2 separate regions of the Homo sapiens genome follow, and region 2 is linked to region 1. Evidence: promoter capture Hi-C in 16 types of primary human blood cells and fetal thymus (Javierre and others, 2016). All regions are on one chromosome and are shown on one strand. Each heading gives the region's core, a stretch centred on a gene start or on the middle of the fragment in contact. The rest is flanking DNA. Distances are from core to core; before and after follow the strand shown. Region 1 holds the start of LILRA6 (leukocyte immunoglobulin like receptor A6). Region 2 overlaps TTYH1 (tweety family member 1).

Region 1 (3,721 bases), core at 885-3,384:
CCAGAGATTCTCCTGCCTCAGCCTCCCGAGTAGCTGGGATTACAGGCGTGCACCACCATACCCAGCTAATTGTTTTTGTATTTTTAGGAGAGATAGGGTTTCACCATATTGGCCACGCTGGTCTCAAACTCCTGACCTCAGGTCATCCGCCCACCTCGGCCTCCCAAAGTGCTGGGATTACAGGCATGAGCTACCACGCCCGGTCAAATTTTTCACTTTATGGCTACATAGTAGGTGTATATATTTATTAAATTACTTTTCGATGGTATTAATTCAATTTACTATTTTTCACCTTCACGACGTCTGTCTAATGCATTTCAACAACTGTCTGTGTTTTCCTCACGTATCTTGGTTGTCATTCCTGTGGGACAGCTCCTCCCACGCACCTGGCCTTTCATAAAGGGTTTCTCCCACGGCTGTCCAGGCATCAGCCTGATGAAGGGGATTGTTGCCGCTGCTCCTGCCCCACTCCCCCAAACTCAGTGTCAGCTCAAGATTGTGCCCAGCAGGGATGGGACCAACGCCAGCCTCACACTCACCTGTGGGGCAGACGCCCATGTCTGACCACCGTGGATCGAATCTGTTTCTCACACACAGGGGAGGGGCTGAGCGCTGACCGTGGCCTCCAGTGAGTGAGCAGAGACCCCCCAGCGCCTGTCCACACACACAGGGGAGGGGGAGCCACCGCTTCCAGCCTCACCCAGAGCCCTGACCCCTCCCTGCCTGGGAGGACGTGGGGTTCCTCTTCTGTCCCACATGGAGGTGGGAGCCTCCTCCTCCCTAATGACGCTCGGTGGTCCCAGACACCTGTGGCCACTCAGCATTGAACTCTGCTCATGGAAGGGGATGCGTCTCAATGTGAGGAACTGTTCTTCCTCTTTCTCGGCCTGTGGCTGTGATGATCTGCATATTTCAGACGTATCACAAGAATTTCATGGTATTTGGAGCCAATGTGGGCTCTTGAATGGGGGCGTCAATCATCCTCCTCAACTGTGGAGCCCAGCACCAGGATCCTCTCCCGTCCCCACCCTCCTGTCTGAACTGGTCTGGAAATTCACCATGGCTGAGCCTCCCATGTCCTGGGCACCACTGACCCCCACAGCCACTGTGATGAGTGGGGTTCACGACAGCAGGCTCAGAGGTGACATTCATGTCCAAAGTCTCATAAACCCTAGATGATAATCAGGAATTAAATACAAATCAGCTCACCTTCCCCAGAATCAGATTATAGATTACAATGAAACATATATATATATATATATATATTTCTCTTTATCCCCTCTATTTCTCCTTTTCAGACAGGATCCTGCGCTGTCGCCCAGGCTGGAAGGCCAAGGGGTGATCATATCTCCCTGCAGCCTCCGCCTCCCGGGCCCAGGTGGTCCTCCCACCTCAGCCTCCTGAGTAGCTGGGACCACAGGCATGAGCCTCCATGCCCAGCTCACTTTTTTCTTTTCTGTAGAAACAGGGTCACAGTCTGTTTCCCAGGACTGTCTGAAGCTCCTGGCCTCAAGCCATCACCCGCCACAGCCTCCTGAAGTGCTGGGATTCCAGGCATGAGCCACCACGGTAGACGCTGCATTTCTCCTCTGTGCTCACTGCTACACGCAGCTCAGCCTGGACTACACAGCCAGGTGTCAGGTGCGTCTCTGCTGATCTGAGTCTGCCTGCAGCATGGACCTGGGTCTTCCCTGAAGCATCTCCAGGGCTGGAGAGACGACTGCCATGGTAAGGACCCCGTAACGCTGAGCTGATGGACGGGCTGAAGGAGGGAGGGAGACCCCATGGGGAGGCTCTGAGAGGGAGGATGAGCCCACAGTCACCCTCGCCTCAAAGGGGCTGACTCCAGAAGGCACTGGTTCTATTTGCTGCTGTGTCCTAGCTCTCAGTGAGATAAAGATAAATCAGGCAGACAGTGGCCCGGGGGCAGGGAGACCCCATTTCTCTCTGAAATGCCTGCAGAGAGCCTGGTGCCTGCCCCCACTTCAGCCCTGGGGAAATCAGAGCCAGGTTCCTGGGGTGGCAGTTCCTCTTCCTGTGGGCTGAGGATGAGACAACCCCATGACAAGAAGGACCCAGCCTCCGAGCGGCCACACCCTGTGTGTCTCTCTGTCCTGCCAGCACTGAGGGCTCATCCCTCTGCAGAGCCCGGGGTCACCAGGAGGAGACGCCATGACCCCCACCCTCGCAGCCCTGCTCTGCCTAGGTGAGATTTCAAGATGGGGAGGGGGAGATCTGAGTCTTGGAGGAACCCCACCCCACACACAAGCCCTGGTCCATCAGGAGACCTCAAAAGCTCAGGAGGCACCAGGGCGGGGAGGACCTGCTCAGGCTTCAGGGCAAATGCCTCACAGGGAATTCTCTTCCAGGGCTGAGTCTGGGCCCCAGGACCCACGTGCAGGCAGGTGAGTCTGTCCCCAGCTGTCCCAGGTCCCTCATCCTTACTAGGGACAAGGGCCACACATGGGCAGCTGGGGGAGGAGACAGCAGTTCTGGGTGGGGAGGAGACAGTAGTTCTGGGTGACTGATGGGGATGATGAGGAAGTCCTGGGGCTGGGAGCTGGGATCTGAGCGTGGGGATGTCTTGGGATCCAGCCTCTGATTTCCATCTAGGGCCCTTCCCCAAACCCACCCTCTGGGCTGAGCCAGGCTCTGTGATCAGCTGGGGGAGCCCCGTGACCATCTGGTGTCAGGGGAGCCTGGAGGCCCAGGAGTACCGACTGGATAAAGAGGGAAGCCCAGAGCCCTGGGACAGAAATAACCCACTGGAACCCAAGAACAAGGCCAGATTCTCCATCCCATCCATAACAGAGCACCATGCGGGGAGATACCGCTGCCACTATTACAGCTCTGCAGGCTGGTCAGAGCCCAGCGACCCCCTGGAGCTGGTGATGACAGGTGAGAGGACACTCTGGGGTCCCAGCCCCAGGCTCTGCCCTCAGGAAGGGGGTCGGCTCTCAGGGGTGTCTCCCTCTCACAGCCCAGCCCTGGGGATGATGTGGGAGGTGGGAGCCCCATTTAACATGGTGCCTCTTTCTCTCCTAGGAGCCTATAGCAAACCCACCCTCTCAGCCCTGCCCAGCCCTGTGGTGGCCTCAGGGGGGAATATGACCCTCCAATGTGGCTCACAGAAGGGATATCACCATTTTGTTCTGATGAAGGAAGGAGAACACCAGCTCCCCCGGACCCTGGACTCACAGCAGCTCCACAGTGGGGGGTTCCAGGCCCTGTTCCCTGTGGGCCCCGTGAACCCCAGCCACAGGTGGAGGTTCACATGCTATTACTATTATATGAACACCCCCCGGGTGTGGTCCCACCCCAGTGACCCCCTGGAGATTCTGCCCTCAGGTGAGGGAGCCACGGCCTTGTCTAACACACTTTCGGGGCAGCTGACAGGTTGTGGGGAGTTTGGCTGGTGACTGAATCTGGAAAGGACCCAGAGTGATGTGTTGAAGGACGGGCTGAAGGCATGAGGGAGACCCCATGGGGAGGCTCTGACATGGGAGGAGGAGCCCTCAGCCACGCTCACCTGAACGGGGAGGACTCAGGAAGGCATCGGTGTGTTTGCTGTGAGGTCCCAGCTCTCAGGGAGAGGAGGAAAGATCAGGCACAGTGGCCAGGGCTAGGGAGACCCCACTCCTCTGAAATGACTCCAAGACAGCCCCGGGTGAGAAGGAGGCCCTGGGGTCAGAGACTCAGAGCATGAGAGACAGTGAGACCT
Region 2 (3,721 bases), core at 388-2,887, 200 kb before region 1:
GTTTCACCATGTTGGCAAAGCTGGTCTCGAACACCTGAGTTCAGGTGATCTACCCACCTCGGTCTCCCAAAGTGCTGGGATTACAGGCGTGAGCCATCGCACCCGGCCCATAACTTCATTCTCAAAACAAAGCTCAAGAACAAAGCTCAGACTCCCTGCTTTGTCTCCTCTGCTCACGGAGTCCTCCCAGCTCCGCCTCAGTCTTCCCTCCCTGTCCCGTGGTCTAGAAACTTGCAACAGGACCCAGCGGCAATTTTAGGGCTTGCCTTGATGTTTCCCGTTCCTCAGGGATCACTTTCTTGGTAGAGTCTTGACCACTGTTGTTTTCTTGTATTTACTCTATTTTTGGGGGGTCAAGTCCAGTCTCTGTGACTCCATCCTGGTCGCAGTGGAAGCCCCCATAGGTAACATTCTAAAAATAACACTGGATTTTCCTTTTGTAAAGTTTGGGTAAAATGCCTTTTTTTTTTTTTTTTTTTTTTTTGAGACGGAGTCTTGCTCTGTCGCCCAGGCTGGAGTGCAGTGGCGCGATCTCGGCTCACTGCAAGCTCCGCATCCCGGGTTCAGGTGATTCTCCTGCCTCAGCCTCCTGAGTAGCTGGGATTGCAGGCGCCCGCCACCATGCCCGGCTAATTTTTGTGTTTAGTAGAGATGGGGTTTCACCGTGTTGGCCAGGCTGGTCTCAAACTCCTGACCTCAGGTGATCGCCTGCCCCAGCCTCCCACAGTGCTGGGATTACAGGCGTGAGCCAGGGTGCCCGGCCAACTTCTTGTTGAGAGATCACCCCCAGGCTCATTGGCATGGGAGATCAAGCAGCTGAGTCTCAAGGTACTTTGCAGCCGCCCAACAGCCAGCGGATGCCTGTGCTTGGGAAATGGGCTCAGGGGCACTAGAGGGCAGTGTTTGAGAGGAAAGAAGTCAGCATAGCAGCAGGGCCGGGCCTGGGGCAGACAGCCCACATGGTTAGGAAAAAGTGAGTGAACGCATGTGGCCCCCAGAACCCCTCCCTGAAATTGCAGTTGATTTTTATTCCCACCGTCAGGCCCACATATCTAAAGCTTCCTCTGAACGCTCCTTGCAGTACACAAAATAGAAATGATTGACAGGCACAGAGCAGCAGCAGGCCCCACGCTGTACACCAGCATCTGGCACTGTGGGTCACCAAGCACCAACTCGATCCCCTCGGAGCCAGGTGTGTGTTGAGATTCAGGATTTTTCAGTTGCAAAGGCAATATGATCTCTACTCCACAGGGCACACGGCACCCTCAGTGCTCAGCACAGCAGTGTGCAGCAGCCTGGTTAACTTTTCTGCAGGGAAGTATGTGAACGTTCACACCAAGCGTGTCAGTCATGTCTGTAAGTCATCTCCCACCAACACAGGTCAGGTTTTCCTGCCCAATGAGCTTGGGGATGGCTTGACTTTGGAGCTCTTTGGATCTGTGGATTTTGGAATTTTGGATTTCTGATACCCGTTTGATCAAAGAGGCAACCGAGGTCTAACGGGTCAAGTGACTTTCCCATATCCGTGAAGGTCATGAAAAGCAGGGCCAGGATGGTGGCCTGGGGTGCCTTGAATGATAAGCTGGGCCCTTCACTGTGCAGGCCCCTCTCCTTCAGTCCACTCTGCCACTGCTGTCTGCCACACCCTGCTCTGATAGCTCCTCTCTGCCAGGCTTTTCCCTCACATCCTCAACTCAGCCAAGAGCTGGTTTCTTCCAGAGAGCCCTGCTGTGCAGTCAGTTATTGGACTTCTCTTTTTGTGCATGTTTGTTTTCAGGGTTTAGCTGATCAAAGTGGTATCGTTGTAACAGGCAGCTCTAAATAGAAGTCTTCAGAAGCCTGTGTGTCTTTTTCTGTAAATCAATTCCCAAAAGCAGGATTGTTGGGGCATGGGGTGTATGCAGTTTTGATCTGATCACATACAAGCGCATTTTTTTTTTTTTTCAAGGGATGGTGGCAGCTCACAGCCTCAGGAGAAGTGTTTTGAGTGCCTGTTCCTCTAGGTCCTCGCCCGCCCAGGACATCACCACTCTTGTTAATTTCATTGTGTCTAGGTAGTGAAAAAGTGTAGTTTCTCATTCTTTCAAATTGCATTTCCCAATTATTAGAGTTTGAATCTTTTTGTCTGTTTACTGATGTTGGAATTTTTATTGAGTATTCAACTCAATTGATTACTTTTAAATGGGTTGTCTTTTTCTTAGTTTATGAAAGCTTTTGTAGATTATATCTTTTAAGAATAACATTTCTGCATCATAACTGTTAACATACACACACACACACACACACACACACACACACACACACGCACGCACACACTCACTGTTCCCCAGTCTGTCAATTTGCCATTTGACTTTACGGTATGTTTTTCAATCTATAATTTGCCAACTAAGCTATCTTTTCCTTTCTGGTTTTATGATCTCCTGCTTAAACTCCTCCCTCCCCATTTTCCCTACCCAGATACATGACATGCAGACAATATACAAATATTCTCCTAATTTCTCTGGTTTGTTTTGTTTTGTTTTGTTTTTTTCTGAGATGGAGTCTCACTTGATCTCCCAGGCTGGAGTACAGTGGTGCAACCTCCACCTCCCGGGTTCAAGCAATTCTCCTGCCTCAGCCTCCCGAGTAGCTGGGCTTACAGACCTGTGCCACCATGCCCAGCTAATTTTTTTTTTCTTTAAGTAGAGACGGGGTTTCACCATGTTGGCCACTCTGCTCTCAAACTCCTGGCCTCAAGGGATCCACCCACCTTGGCCTCTCAAAATGCTGGGATTACAGTCATGAGCCACCGCAGCCAGCCTCTCTCTGTTTTTTGTCTTTTTTTTTTTTTTTTTTTAAGAGGCAGGGTCTTGGCCGGGCGCGGTGGCTCACGCCTGTATTCCCAGCACTTTGGGAGGCCGAGACGGGCGGATCACGAGGTCAGGAGATCGAGACCATCTTGGCTAACACGGTGAAACCCCGTTTCTACTAAAAATACAAAAAATTAGCCGGACGTGTTGGCGGGCGCCTGTAGTCCCAGCTACTTGGGAGGCTGAGGCAGGAGAATGGCATGAACCTGGGAGGCGGAGCTTGCAGTGAGCCGAGATCGCGCCACTGCACTCCAACCTGGGTGACAGAGCGAGACTCCGTCTCAAAAACAAAAAAAAAAAAAAAAAAAGAGGCAGGGTCTTGCTCTGTTGCCCAGGCTGGAGTGCAGTGGCACGATCACAGCTCACTGCTACCTCGAAACGGGCTCAAGCAAGGAGTCTCAGCCTCCCGAGTAGCTGGAACCACAGGCATGCACCACCATGCCCACCCTCCTAATTTCTCTAGAAATTCTTCTGTGCCTTTACTTGCATACATCTAGATCTTCCACCCATCTTATCTATAGAAGTTTTTGGCCAGATGGAGAGCCGATATGTCACTACTGCTGCTAAACCAACCGTCCTTTCCACACTGACTTGAAATCTGTCTTCTGTCATGTGTGTATATATATATATACACACACACACACACACACACACAGTTAGATCTATTTCTAGGCCATCTATTCTGTGCCAGAGATGCCTGTGTCTTCCTGTGTCAGGACACGCGCATTACTTTTAGAATCAGAAGAAAGCGTTTTGTTTTTTGATTTTTTTTTTTTTTTTTTTAAAGAACAATGTCTTTGGACCCCTTGCTGAGCCTGGACAGGCGCAGAAATTCCTGGCAGCTGGGAGGCCGGGGGAGAGAGGACAGCAGG

The links. Contacts are between HindIII fragments. The CHiCAGO score rates a contact against its expected background, and 5 or more counts as called.
Region 2: a contact is called between a fragment that was not itself captured here and the fragment with the promoter of LILRA6 in region 1, in 1 of 17 cell types (monocytes). The highest score is 6.0, in monocytes.

The regions. Positions count from the first base shown.
Region 1 is chr19:54,241,203-54,244,923 of GRCh38, reverse strand. It overlaps LILRA6 (leukocyte immunoglobulin like receptor A6), which reads left to right and starts at 2,134. Exons shown (of 8, transcript NM_024318.5): 1 at 2,134-2,206; 2 at 2,370-2,405; 3 at 2,614-2,898; 4 at 3,046-3,348. The coding sequence starts at 2,173. It overlaps LOC107987463 (a long non-coding RNA gene), which reads left to right. Exons shown (of 3, transcript XR_007067341.1): 3 at 1,463-1,531. RefSeq lists an enhancer at 561-1,059. The HindIII fragment of the contact is 25,461 bases long and covers 1-3,721 here.
Region 2 is chr19:54,436,784-54,440,504 of GRCh38, reverse strand. TTYH1 (tweety family member 1) reads right to left here. Exons shown (of 14, transcript NM_020659.4): 14 at 3,601-3,721. Among named protein-coding and RNA genes, the nearest start is that of LENG8-AS1, 10 kb to the left of the region's middle. The HindIII fragment of the contact is 1,153 bases long and covers 1,061-2,213 here.